Regions from separate parts of the Homo sapiens genome. Here regions 1 and 2 are each linked to region 3. Evidence: promoter capture Hi-C in 16 types of primary human blood cells and fetal thymus (Javierre and others, 2016). All regions are on one chromosome and are shown on one strand. The core of a region is centred on a gene start or on the middle of the fragment in contact, and the rest is flanking DNA. Distances in the headings are between cores, read along the strand shown.

Evidence for each region. Contacts are between HindIII fragments. The CHiCAGO score rates a contact against its expected background, and 5 or more counts as called.
Region 1: a fragment that was not itself captured here is called in contact with the fragment with the promoter of RFPL2 in region 3 in 4 of 17 cell types (M1 macrophages, M0 macrophages, monocytes and 1 more); the score reaches 8.6 in M1 macrophages.
Region 2: a fragment that was not itself captured here is called in contact with the fragment with the promoter of RFPL2 in region 3 in 5 of 17 cell types (total CD4 T cells, naive CD4 T cells, M2 macrophages and 2 more); the score reaches 6.6 in total CD4 T cells.

The regions. Positions count from the first base shown.
Region 1 is chr22:32,267,406-32,271,058 of GRCh38, forward strand. SLC5A4-AS1 (SLC5A4 antisense RNA 1) reads left to right here. Exons shown (of 4, transcript NR_149072.1): 3 at 883-1,174; 4 at 1,952-3,653. It also overlaps a transcript of SLC5A4 not described here and the pseudogene CPSF1P1. Among named protein-coding and RNA genes, the nearest start is that of SLC5A4, 14 kb to the left of the region's middle. The HindIII fragment of the contact is 707 bases long and covers 1,893-2,599 here.
Region 2 is chr22:32,104,368-32,108,102 of GRCh38, forward strand. SLC5A1 (solute carrier family 5 member 1) reads left to right here. Exons shown (of 15, transcript NM_000343.4): 14 at 419-524. It overlaps LOC105373000 (a long non-coding RNA gene), which reads right to left. Exons shown (of 3, transcript XR_938172.3): 3 at 2,490-2,575. Among named protein-coding and RNA genes, the nearest start is that of C22orf42, 53 kb to the right of the region's middle. The HindIII fragment of the contact is 4,236 bases long and covers 1-3,510 here.
Region 3 is chr22:32,203,353-32,207,060 of GRCh38, forward strand. It overlaps RFPL2 (ret finger protein like 2), which reads right to left and starts at 1,721. Exons shown (of 5, transcript NM_001394555.1): 1 at 1,355-1,721. It overlaps SLC5A4-AS1 (SLC5A4 antisense RNA 1), which reads left to right and starts at 1,763. Exons shown (of 4, transcript NR_149072.1): 1 at 1,763-1,895. RefSeq lists an enhancer at 3,165-3,708. The HindIII fragment of the contact is 11,730 bases long and covers 1-3,708 here.

The DNA.
Region 1 (3,653 bases), core at 996-3,495, 65 kb after region 3:
AGAGGTGAGAATAAATTAAGAAAAAAATTAAAATTTTAATACAGAAAATGTTATCATTTCAGCATGAAATTAACTTTAAGATTGTTTTTAAGAAACAGGGTCTCCCTCCATCACCCAGGCTGGAGTGCAGTGGCACGATCATAGCTCACTGTAGCTTCAACTTCTTGGGCTCAGGCGATCCTCCCGACTCAGCCTCCCAGGGTGCTAGGACTACAGGCACATGCCACTGCACCCAGCCAACCTTTAAAAGTTCTTAACAACATCATTTACATTCTCTATTTCTCATTACATTTTCCAAATCCATTATGCATTTTACACTGAAAGCACATCTCAATTCTGATATGCCCCATTTCAGGTGCTCAAGAGCCACATGTGGCAGGACAGCCCAGTATAGACACTTTTATGACATCAACTTCCCAAAGAAACAATCAAGTCCTGGCTGGACGTGGTGGCTCACGCCTGTAATCCCAGCACTTTGGGAGGCTGAGGCAGGAGGATCACGAGGTCAGGAGATTGAGACCATCCTGGCTAACACAGTGAAACTCCATCTCTACTAAAAATACAAAAAATTAGCCAGGCGTGGTGGTGGGCGCCTGTAGTCCCAGGTACTTGGGAAGCTGAGGCAGGAGAATGGCGTAAACCCAGGAGGTGGAGCTTGCAGTGAGCCGAGATGGCGCCACTGCACTCCAGCTAGCATTTAAAATATCAGAAGCTCAAGGCCCTGAGTCTTTTATATATGTATTTATATTGTGTTTCATTATGTTTCACTAGTAATTGTGCATAGTAGGCCCTGATATCTCTATGTATATAAGGAGGAAAGATTTCCAAGGAGTGTTGTCCTTCAACTCATGACACTCTAATAGCATGTACATTTTTCCATAGAGAGTGGTCACGGCTGAACAATTTCAAGAAGCGAGTCGATGTCTCATCTCCCTATCTTATCTTGAAAAACCCGTGTACCTAAGTCGTGGATGTGTCTGCTGCATCCGCTGCATCAGTTCACTTCTGAAGGAACCCCATGAGGAAGGTGTAATGTGCTCCTTTCGCTCTGTGGCTACTCAGAAGAATGACATCAGGCCCGATTTCCAGCTGGGAAAGATGGATTCTAAAATCAAGGAACTGGAGCCCCAGCTGACAATTCTATATCAGAACCCAAAGACGCTGAAGTTCCAAGGTAAGAAATCTGTAAAATTTGCTCTCAGCCCATCAATGGCCCTGAGAAAGTAGCCATTCAAAATGTTCTCCATTAAATATGGGCATAGGCTGAATTCTGGCACCTGAAATATTTATGCCCCCAAACCATAGTTGAATATAGACTAGAGATGACTAGAGATTTTGAAGGTAATGTAATAGTTAGGTCGTGCTCTAGGCCTGTGCTGTCTAATGTGGTAGTCGCCATTGGCTGCAGAGCCCTTAAATGTGGTTAGTGTCCTCTGTGAAAATGATAATAATTTGGGATATACAGGCTTATAATATACTATTTAAAGTATTTTTTGCATTTTTTCTCTTGAGACAGAGTTTCGCTCTTTCGCCCAGGCTGAGTGCAGTGGTGTGATCTCGGCTTACTGCACGCTCTGCCTTCTGGGTTCAAGCGATTCTGCCTCAGCCTCCTGAGTAGCTGGGACTGCAGGAGCATGCCACCACACCGGGCTAATTTTTATATTTTTAGTAAACACAGGGTTTTGCCATGTTGGCCATGGCGGTCTCGAACTCCTCACCTTGTGATCTGCCCACCCTGGCCTCCCAAAGTGCTGGGATTACAGGCGTGAGCCACCACGAGCGGCTGCATGTTTTTTATTACTTTTTTAGCATGTCTACAGGAAAATTTAAAATTATACATGTGGCTGTCATATTTCTTTGGGTGTAGCACTGACCTAAAACATAACTTCTCAAGCTTGTTTATATTAAATCACCTGGAGATCTTTTAAAAATCCGTATTTTGATTCCATAGGAGTGGGCTGGCCTGTCCTGTAGAAGCTACCTCATCGATGTGCAGGCCCTGGATGAGAAGCTGCTCATCATCATCGCCCTGCAGTTCCTGCACGGCTACTACAAGCCCATCCTGTTCGAGCCCAACCAGACCTGGCCCGGGCACGTGGCTGTGTGGCAGGACACGTGCTCCATCGTGGCCATCTTGCTAACATCACGCAGAAGGTGCACCCCGTCATCTGATCTCTCACCAGCTACCCTTTGACTGCACCCAGGCTCTGGCCGTACCCAAGCCCATAGGTGGGGTGGTGGTCTTTGTCGTCAGCTCGCTGTTATACCTGAACCAGAGCATTCCCCCGTACGGTGTGGCTCTCAGCAGCCTCACCACAGGCACCGCAGCTTTCCCGCTGTGCACCCAGCTGGGTGTGTGAATCCCCCTGGACTGCGCCCAGGCCACCTTCATCTCCCATGACAAGATGGTCATCTCCCTCAAGGGCAGTCAGATCTACATGCTGACCCTCATCACCGATGGCATGCGTAGCGTCCGAGTGTTCCACTTTTGACAAGGCGGCCACCAGCGTCCTCACCACCAGCATGGTCACCATGGAGCCTGGGTACCTGTTCCTGAGTTCTTGCCTGGGCAACTCTCTCCTCCTCAAGTACACCGAGAAGCTTCAGGAGCCCCCGGCCAGTGCTATCTGTGAGGCTGCTGACAAGGAAGAGCCTCCCTCACAGAAGAAGCGAGTGGACACATGGCCAGCTGGTCAGCCAGGGACAAATCCGTGTCACAGGACGACATGGACGAGATTGAAGTGTACGGCAGCGACGCCCAGTCGGGCACACAGCTGGCCACCTACCTTTGAGGTGTGTGACAGCATCCTTAACATTGGACCCTGCACCAATGCTGCCATGGGTGAGCCTGCCTTCCTGTCTGAAGAGTTTCAGAACAACCCTGAGCCGGACCTGGAGATTGTGGTTTGCTCCAGCCACAGGAAGAATGGGGCTCTGTCGGTGCTGCAGAAGAGCATCCAGCCCCAGGTGGTGACAACCTTTGAGCTTCCCGGCTGCTACGACATGTGGACAGTCATCGCCCTGGTGCCTAAGGAGGAGAAAGAGAATCCCAAGGGGGAGGGCACGGAGCAGGAACCCAGCACCCCCGAAGCGGACAATGACCACCGCAGACAGTGATTCCTGATTCTGAGCCAGGAAGACTCAACCATATTCCCGCAGATGGGGCAGGAGATCATGGAGCTGGACACCAGTGGCTTTGCCACGCAGGGCCCCACGGTCTTTGCCGAAAACATCGGGGACAACCACTACATTGTCCAAGTGTCGCTGCTGGGCATCCACCTGCTGGAAGGAATGAATCAGTTGTACTTCATCCCTGTGGGCCTGGTCACCCGCAACATGCAGTGCACTGTAGGCAACCCCTGCGTGGTCATCATGAGTGCCGACGGCCGCGTCACCATGTTCCTGCTGAAAAGCACACTCCTATAGTGGCTGCCACGACCACCTGGTGCTGCACAAGCCCCCGCTGCACCATCAGCCCAACGTGATCACGCTGTGCCTGTACCGAGACCTCAGTGGCATGTTCACCACTGAGAGCTGCCTGAGCGGGGCTCACGATGAGCTAGGGGGCCACAGTGGCTTGGAGGCCGAGAGCCTGGGCTCGGAGACTAGCCCCACAGTCGGTGATGAGGAAATGCTGTGTGGGGATTTGGGAT
Region 2 (3,735 bases), core at 143-2,642, 99 kb before region 3:
CATGATTCTAGCTTCTTATCCACATAATGTGACATAGTGCAAAAATCTGAACTTACACTCCTAACCTGGACAAATGGTTGTCTTGTTGCTTCCTACTGCCAGTGCTAAAAGGAACAAATTATTTATCACACACACACGTAAAAGAGTTCATTCAACAAACATTTCCATATGAGGCAATCTTTTAGCTCTGAATATGCATATATCATAGAGGCTAGTATATACATGTATATTACTTTTATCTAAGTTACCAATGTTTTTAGAGATAATGTTATGGATGAGAATCGTTGTGTATGTTCTTCCTGGTACTGAGATGCCACATTCCCTTCCCTTCCTTGATGCATATCTCTTTGCCCCCCCAACTTCTTGTCCCAAGATGCTATTTGGATCTTTCTGTTGACCTGTTCTGCCTTCTCTGCAGCTCTACCGTCTGTGTTGGAGCCTGCGCAACAGCAAAGAGGAGCGTATTGACCTGGATGCGGAAGAGGAGAACATCCAAGAAGGCCCTAAGGAGACCATTGAAATAGGTGACTTATGACCCAGAGCAGATCCTAAACCATAAAAGTTACTCCTACAACAACAAGACTTTACTGAAGTTCTTCCCTAAATAATTTTATCAGAGCTCAGATGTCTCCCCTCCAGGGCAGTGAGGAGTAGGGTGGGGATGAGATGGATAAGTGGGTTTGGGGAAGTTAACTCTGAGTTCAAGGGAAAGAAAGGGTACAGAATCATTCAAGCTCCCTCACCCCTCATATTTAAAAAATTTTTGTGAGTACGTAGTAGGTGTATACATTTATGAGGTACGTGAGATGTTCTGATGCAGGCATGCAATCATGCCTGCAAGCAAGCACATCATGGAGAATGGGGTGTCCACCCCCTCAAGCATTTATCCTTTGAGTTGCAAACAATCCAGTTGCACTCTTAATTTTTTTTTTTTTTTTTTTTTGAGACCGAGTTTCACTCTTGTTGCCTAGGCTGGAGTGCAATGGCGCAATCTCGGCTCACTGCAACCTCCACCTCCTGGGTTCAAGCGATTCTCCTGCCTCAGCCTCCTGAGTAGCTGGGAATACAGGCATGCACCACCACGCCCGGCTAATTTTGTATGTTTTTAGTAGAGATGGGGTTTCTCCATGTTGGTTAGCCTGGTCTCAAACTCCTGACCTTAGGTGATCTGCCCGCCTTGGCCTCCCAAAGTATTGGGATTACAGGCATAAGCCACCACACCCGGCCTTGCACTCTTAATTTTAAAATGTACAATTAAGTTTTCATTGACTATAGCCACCCTGTTGTGCTATCAAATAGTAGGTTAGTCATTCTTTCTATTTTTTTGTTGTACCCATTAACCATCCCTACCCCATCCCCAGACCCCCACTACCCTTCCCAGCCTCTGGTAACCATCTTTCTACTTTCTATGTCCATGAGTTCAATTGTTTTGATTTTTAGATCTCACAAATAAGTGAGAACATGAGATGTTTGTCTTACTGTGACTGGCCTATTTCACTTAACATAATGATCTCCAGTTCCATCCATGTTGTTGCAAATGACAGGGTCTCATTCTTTCTTTATGGCTGAATAGTACTCCATTGTGTATATGTACCCATTTTCTTTATCCATTCATCTGTTGATGGACACTTAGGTTGCTTCCAAATCTTAGCCATTGTAAACAGTGCAGCAACAAACATAGGAGTGCAGATATCTCTTCAATATACTAATTTCCTTTCTTTTGGGCATATACCCAGCAGTGGGATTACTGAATTATATGGTAGCTGTCTTTTTAGTTTTTTGAGGAACCTCCAAACTGTTCTCCATACTGGTCATACTAACTTTCATTCCCACCAACAGTGTACATCCTCACCAGCATTTGTTATTGCCTGTCTTTTGGATATAAGCCGTTTTAACTGTGATGAGATGATATATCATTGTAGTTTTGATTTGCATTTCTATGATTGATGATGTTGAGCACATTTTTATGTGCCTATTAGCCATTTATATATCATATTTTGAGAAACGTCTATTAAAATCTTTAGACCATTTTTGATTGGATTCTTACCCCTCATATTTGACAGCACTCAGTGAGTAAGTGTGGGTGAGGAATTTGCCACCCTGCCTTGATTTGAGGAATGGCCAGGGATAAGAGAAGAGTTGGAGCTCTTCTGACATAGCCTGTGAACTGAGGGCAGATGGAACCAAAGCTATGGCCAGTTCTAGTGACATCAAGATGAGGGGATAGAAGCCCTTGGGATCTTATGTCATACTGGCTTACAATATCAAATGCAGAAAATCAAATTTCTCTCGAAGACCAATGAAATAACGCTTAGTCAGTGCCCAGAGACTTATCCTGTAAGTTAATACTTTCTTCTACTTCAGTATTGCAACTTTTCCTCTCTATGTGGGAAACGTGCACACGTGGAGGATGGTTGTGGAGGTGTGTGGTGTGCAGAGCTATGGGGGCTCAAGGTCATATGTGCTTTACCTGGTGCTGGGCTGGAGGCCTCATATCACTCCATCTGAAGGAGAGCACAGGTGTAGCTCAGAACAGATTCTCAATCTGGCCATCAGGAACATCATAGAATCCTACCTGGGGAAAGAGCCCTAGAGATCATTTGGTCTTATCATCTCATTTTATAGACATGTAAATTGAGGCTTAGGGAGGGAGAGGCTGTGCCTAAGGTCTCAGCTTTGTTACAATCTGCTCTTGATCTTCGAGTACCTTTCAATTCTAAAACTTGTGACTGCAAATACTGGAGAGAGCCTGGAGCCACAGCAGCTGGCCATGGTGCTGAAAACAGCCCCTTCCTGCCTCCCTGGGGCAGGCAGGCAGGAACATGCCCTCTACTTCTCCTACCTCCAAAAATGTCTCCACACTGTGTAAGAATATCATAGATTTTAAAGGGACATGGATTAGGAGTATTTTGAGTGTCAAAAGATCTTATTGTGGAAGAAGAGATTATTTTTATGCCAGAAGGCAGACTTAACACTGGTGGGTGAAAAGAATTCATCCGATTTTAACTCAGAGTAAGGAGGCAAGATAGTGCAGAGATAGACTGTGAGATTTGGAATCAGGAAGAACTGGGATTTAATCATCATCAATTCTCTTCCTAATACTCTGGGAAAGTGATTCCATTGTTCTAAAGCTCAGATTCATCACATAAAAGTATTCTAAATGAAAACCCATGCCTCTTATGCTCTGCTGTAAGAATTGTCTATATTTACCACCATCATGATTGCTTTGAAGGAAGAGTTTCTAATTGAGTTGGTCTGGACAGGGATGAGCAGTATGTGTACATCTGTCAAGGATTCTGTAGAGGGAACTTCCGTACTGGCTAGAGATTTGACTTGGTGACCTCTGAGGTTCATGGCAGCACTCAAATTCTGTTGTGTCTTCATGAACTTAGGGTGAAATCAGACTGAACATCCTACCCTATTAAAGCACAATAAACTAAGCTATCTTTAGGGATTTTACAGACCATGAATGTCACATTCACCATTCTCTGAGAAACAGCAACACAAGGAAGCTTTGCAGGTGCATCACTGTCCCAGTATCATCATCCTCACCACCACCACCACCACCACCATCATCGATAATGATATGATCATAACATGTTTTAATTATAAACACTTTAGTGATTCATTTCAGCAATGCATCATCCTCTTAAGGCAGATAACGCAAGTACAATTCTTCCAATTTTCCTTCCTTTCCAGAACAGGAAAATGTGACACAGAGAATTTCCTAAGGCC
Region 3 (3,708 bases), core at 471-2,970:
ACCCAACCCAACTCCTGCGCGGGCAGTGCAGCACCAGATAGCGCCCCTAAAACGCCTCCCGCCACCGGCGGTGTAGCCCAGGATAGCGCCGCCAACCCGGTACTCGCCGCGGCAGTGTAGCGATAGGGCACCCAATCTGCCACCCACCGCCGGCAGTGCAACCCCAGATAGCGCACCGAACTCACTCCCTGCTGGGCAGTGCAACCCCACATAGCATCCAACCCGCCTCCCCACCCAGCCACTGGCAGTCCGCCCCCGATAATGTCCCATACACGCTCCTGGCTGTGGGCAGTGCAGCCCATGGGTAGCGCCCCCAACCAGCCCCCAGCCATGGGGAGTGATGCCTCGGATAACACACCCAACAAGTTCCCCACCATGGCACTGATGTCCCAGGTAGCGCCCCCAATCCTTGCCCCTCAGCGACCAGTGCAGCCATGGATAGCGCCCTCAACAAGCCCCTCCACTGACCCCCGCCGCTGTGGGAAATGACGCCCGGGATAACGCACCCAACCCTCCCCCGCCATGAGCAATGCAACACGCACTACTGCTCCTTACACGCCCCCCACTACATGCGGTGTAGCCAACGATGGCGCCCCCATCTCCCCCTCGCCTCGGGCAGTGTAGCTCCCGATAGTGCATCCAACCCATTCCCTCTGCCCCTCTCCTCCCACCGAGTCAACCACCGCCGGCAGTCCAACCCCAAATAGCGCACCCAATCCACTCCCTGCCAGGCAGTGAAGCCCCCCGATAGCACCCAACCCGCACCCCCACCCCCGCCACTGGCAGTCCGCCCCGATAACGCCCCAACACGCTCCTGGCTGTAGGCAGTGTAGCCCATAGATAGAGCCCCCAACCAGCCCCCAGCCAAGGGCAGTGACGCCTCGGATATCACAGCCAACAAGTTCCCTGCCATGCGCACTGATGTCCCAGATAGCGCCCCCAACCCGTACCCCAGCGCGACCAGTGCAGCCACGGATAGCGCCCCCAGCAAGCCACCCCGCGGCTGCGGGAAATGACGTCCGGTAAAGCACCCAACCTTCCCGTGCTGTAGGCAGTGCAGCACCCAATACTGCCCCTAACACGCCTCCCACCACCGGGTTGTAGCCCACGATGGCGCCCTCAATCCGCCCCCGCTCCCACCTCGGGCAGTGCAGCTCCAGATCGTGCATCCAACCTGTCCCCCTCCCCGCCCCCTGCCGCAGGCAGTGAGCCCTGGATAGCTCATCCACCCCGCCACCTTTCTACATTCTGGCTGCGGTCTAGTCTCCCTCACCGCCACCAACGGCAGCGAGCCGAGCCATGCTGCTGCAGGCTTTCAAGCCTCCAGCGTGGGACAGGTGACTCCTCCTCTAACCTGGGCATGGAGCAGATGGGCTGGCAGACGCAGAAGTGCCTGGAATGGCAAGAACCCCTCCCCCCACAGACCGAGGTTATGCAAGTAAGGTTTCTGGACTACATGTTCAGATTGGATGAGAGAAAAACCTCTAGGTCTACTCTGATTGTGCTTTATTTTCACGTTCTGACTGGATGACAGCAAGTCTTAGGATAACCAATCAGAACAAGATAACAAAGCCCGATCAGAGTAGGCCTAGAGGTTTCTCTCATCCGATCAGACTATGTAGTCGAGAAACTTCATTTGCATTAAACTCAGTATATAAAGGATGCCAAGAGGGGTGGCTTGCCCTTCCAGGCTCATCTGCGTCGGCCTGCGTAGCTGCTCTGTGCCCGGCTTAGAGGAGAAGGAGGAGGAGCCACTTGCCGCGCATGCCAGAGGCTAGAGTCATCTACCGCGCATGCTGGAGGCTGGAGCCTACAGTGGCTCACCTCGCTGCTGCGGTTGGTGGCCGCGAGGGTGACTACAGCGCAGCCAGAATGGTGAAAAGGTGGCAGAATAGGTTCGTTATCCCAGGCCGTACTGCCTGTGGCGTGGGGGGCGGGTTGGGGGCCCTATCCAGGGCGTCACTGCCCGTGTTGGGGGGCTGCTTGAGTGTGGTACCTCGGGCGTCACTGCCCGCTGAGGGGAGTGGGGTGGGGGCGCTATCCGGGGGCGCTATCCAGCCTATGGCTGGAGATGGGTTGGGGCGCTATCCGAAGCTGTAATTCCTGCGGCAGTGGGGAGTTTTGGGGGCACTATCTGGGGATGCACTGCCCGCGGCCGGGGGGCGGGGGTGAGTTAGTAGAACTATCAGGTGCTGCAATGCCCTGATGCCCTTGTTGGGGACAGGTTGTGGGGGGCTGGTGGGTGCAACACTGCTGGTGGCGAGGGTGGGTGCTGCTATCCGGTGCTACTCTGCCTGTGGGGGACGGGGGCGGGCGTGATATCCAGGGCATCATTGCCTGCATCTGGGAGCTGGTTGGGGACACTATCCATGGCTGCACTGCCCACAGTGGGGAGCGGGTTGGGGGCACTATTTGGGGCTGCAATGCTGGTGGTGGGGGACGGGTTAGGGTCACTATAGGGTGCTACACTGCTGGCAGTGGGGAGGGGGTTGTTGAGGGCGCTCTCTGGGGGCTACACTGAGACAGGTAGCGGGGGGTTGTTGGGATTGGTACCGGGGCTGGACTGCCCATGGAGAGGGGGTGGGGGCGTTGGTTGGGGGCGCTATTGAGGGCCGGGTACACTGCCTGCGGTGGAGGGGTGGGTTGGGTGCTATCAGGGGTCTGTACTGCCTAGCAGGGAGCGGGTGGGTGTGCTATCTGGGGCTGCACTGGCTGCAGCAGGGGCAGGTTGGGTGCACTATAGGGGGCTACACTGCCCTTGGCAGGGGGTGGTTTAGGTGAGCTGTCTGTGGCCGCACTGCCCGAGGTGGGGAGTAAGTTTGGGTGCTATCTGTGGCTGCACTGCCTGGAGGCAGGAAGTGGGTTGAGGGTGCTATCCTGGGCTGCTTCTCCTGGTGGGGAGCAGGTAGGGGCACTATCCAGGGTTGCACTGCCCGGGGTAGGGGGCGATTTGGGTGCCATATCGGGGCATCACTGCCCACGGCAGGGGTCTGGTTGGGGTCGCTACCCATGGCTACACTGTCTACAGCCACTGCCTACGGCAGGGAGCGGGTTGGGGGCGCTATCCCGGGCTGCGCTGCCCAAGGCAGGGGGTGGGTTGCGGGTGCCATTGGTGCTGCAGTGTCCGAGGCAGGGGCGGGTTGGGGTTGCCATCTGGTGCTACACTGCCAGCTGTGGGGGAGGGTCGGGGGCGCTATCGGGGGCTGCACCGTCCCCCTGGTGGTGGGCAGCGGAGGTGTCAGTGACAGCGGTGGTCAGAGGAGGTGAGAGGGACTCCAGTCTCTAGAGGGCCATCTCCTTCTGCTCCTGGCCAGCACACAGCATTTCTGCGGGGATCCTGAGCACGGCCCGGCCCCTAGACCTGCTGTGGTTCCCAGGCGCGCGCCCTCTCACCATGTGTTGCTGAGACCGTCTGGGACCCCTGGGCACACAGTAGCGGACATCATGGAGTGACAGGGCCCTGTGGGTGGAGGTGTCAGGAAGAGGTACCGGCACTTGGGTGGGGAGGGCTGGCTGGGGTTGAGTTTCTGCTGCTTCTGCTTCCTGAGGAGCGCAGCCAGGGGTGGGCCCAGCGATTCGTGCCGAGTGGGAAGCCCGGACGCTGTACTGTGGTGTCTCCAGTCCCCACCCCAGGCCCCAGTTCCTGGTGAACTTGGGCCAAAAAGGGAGGCTGGGCTTTGGAGGGTAGGTGTGAGTGCCTTTGCTAAA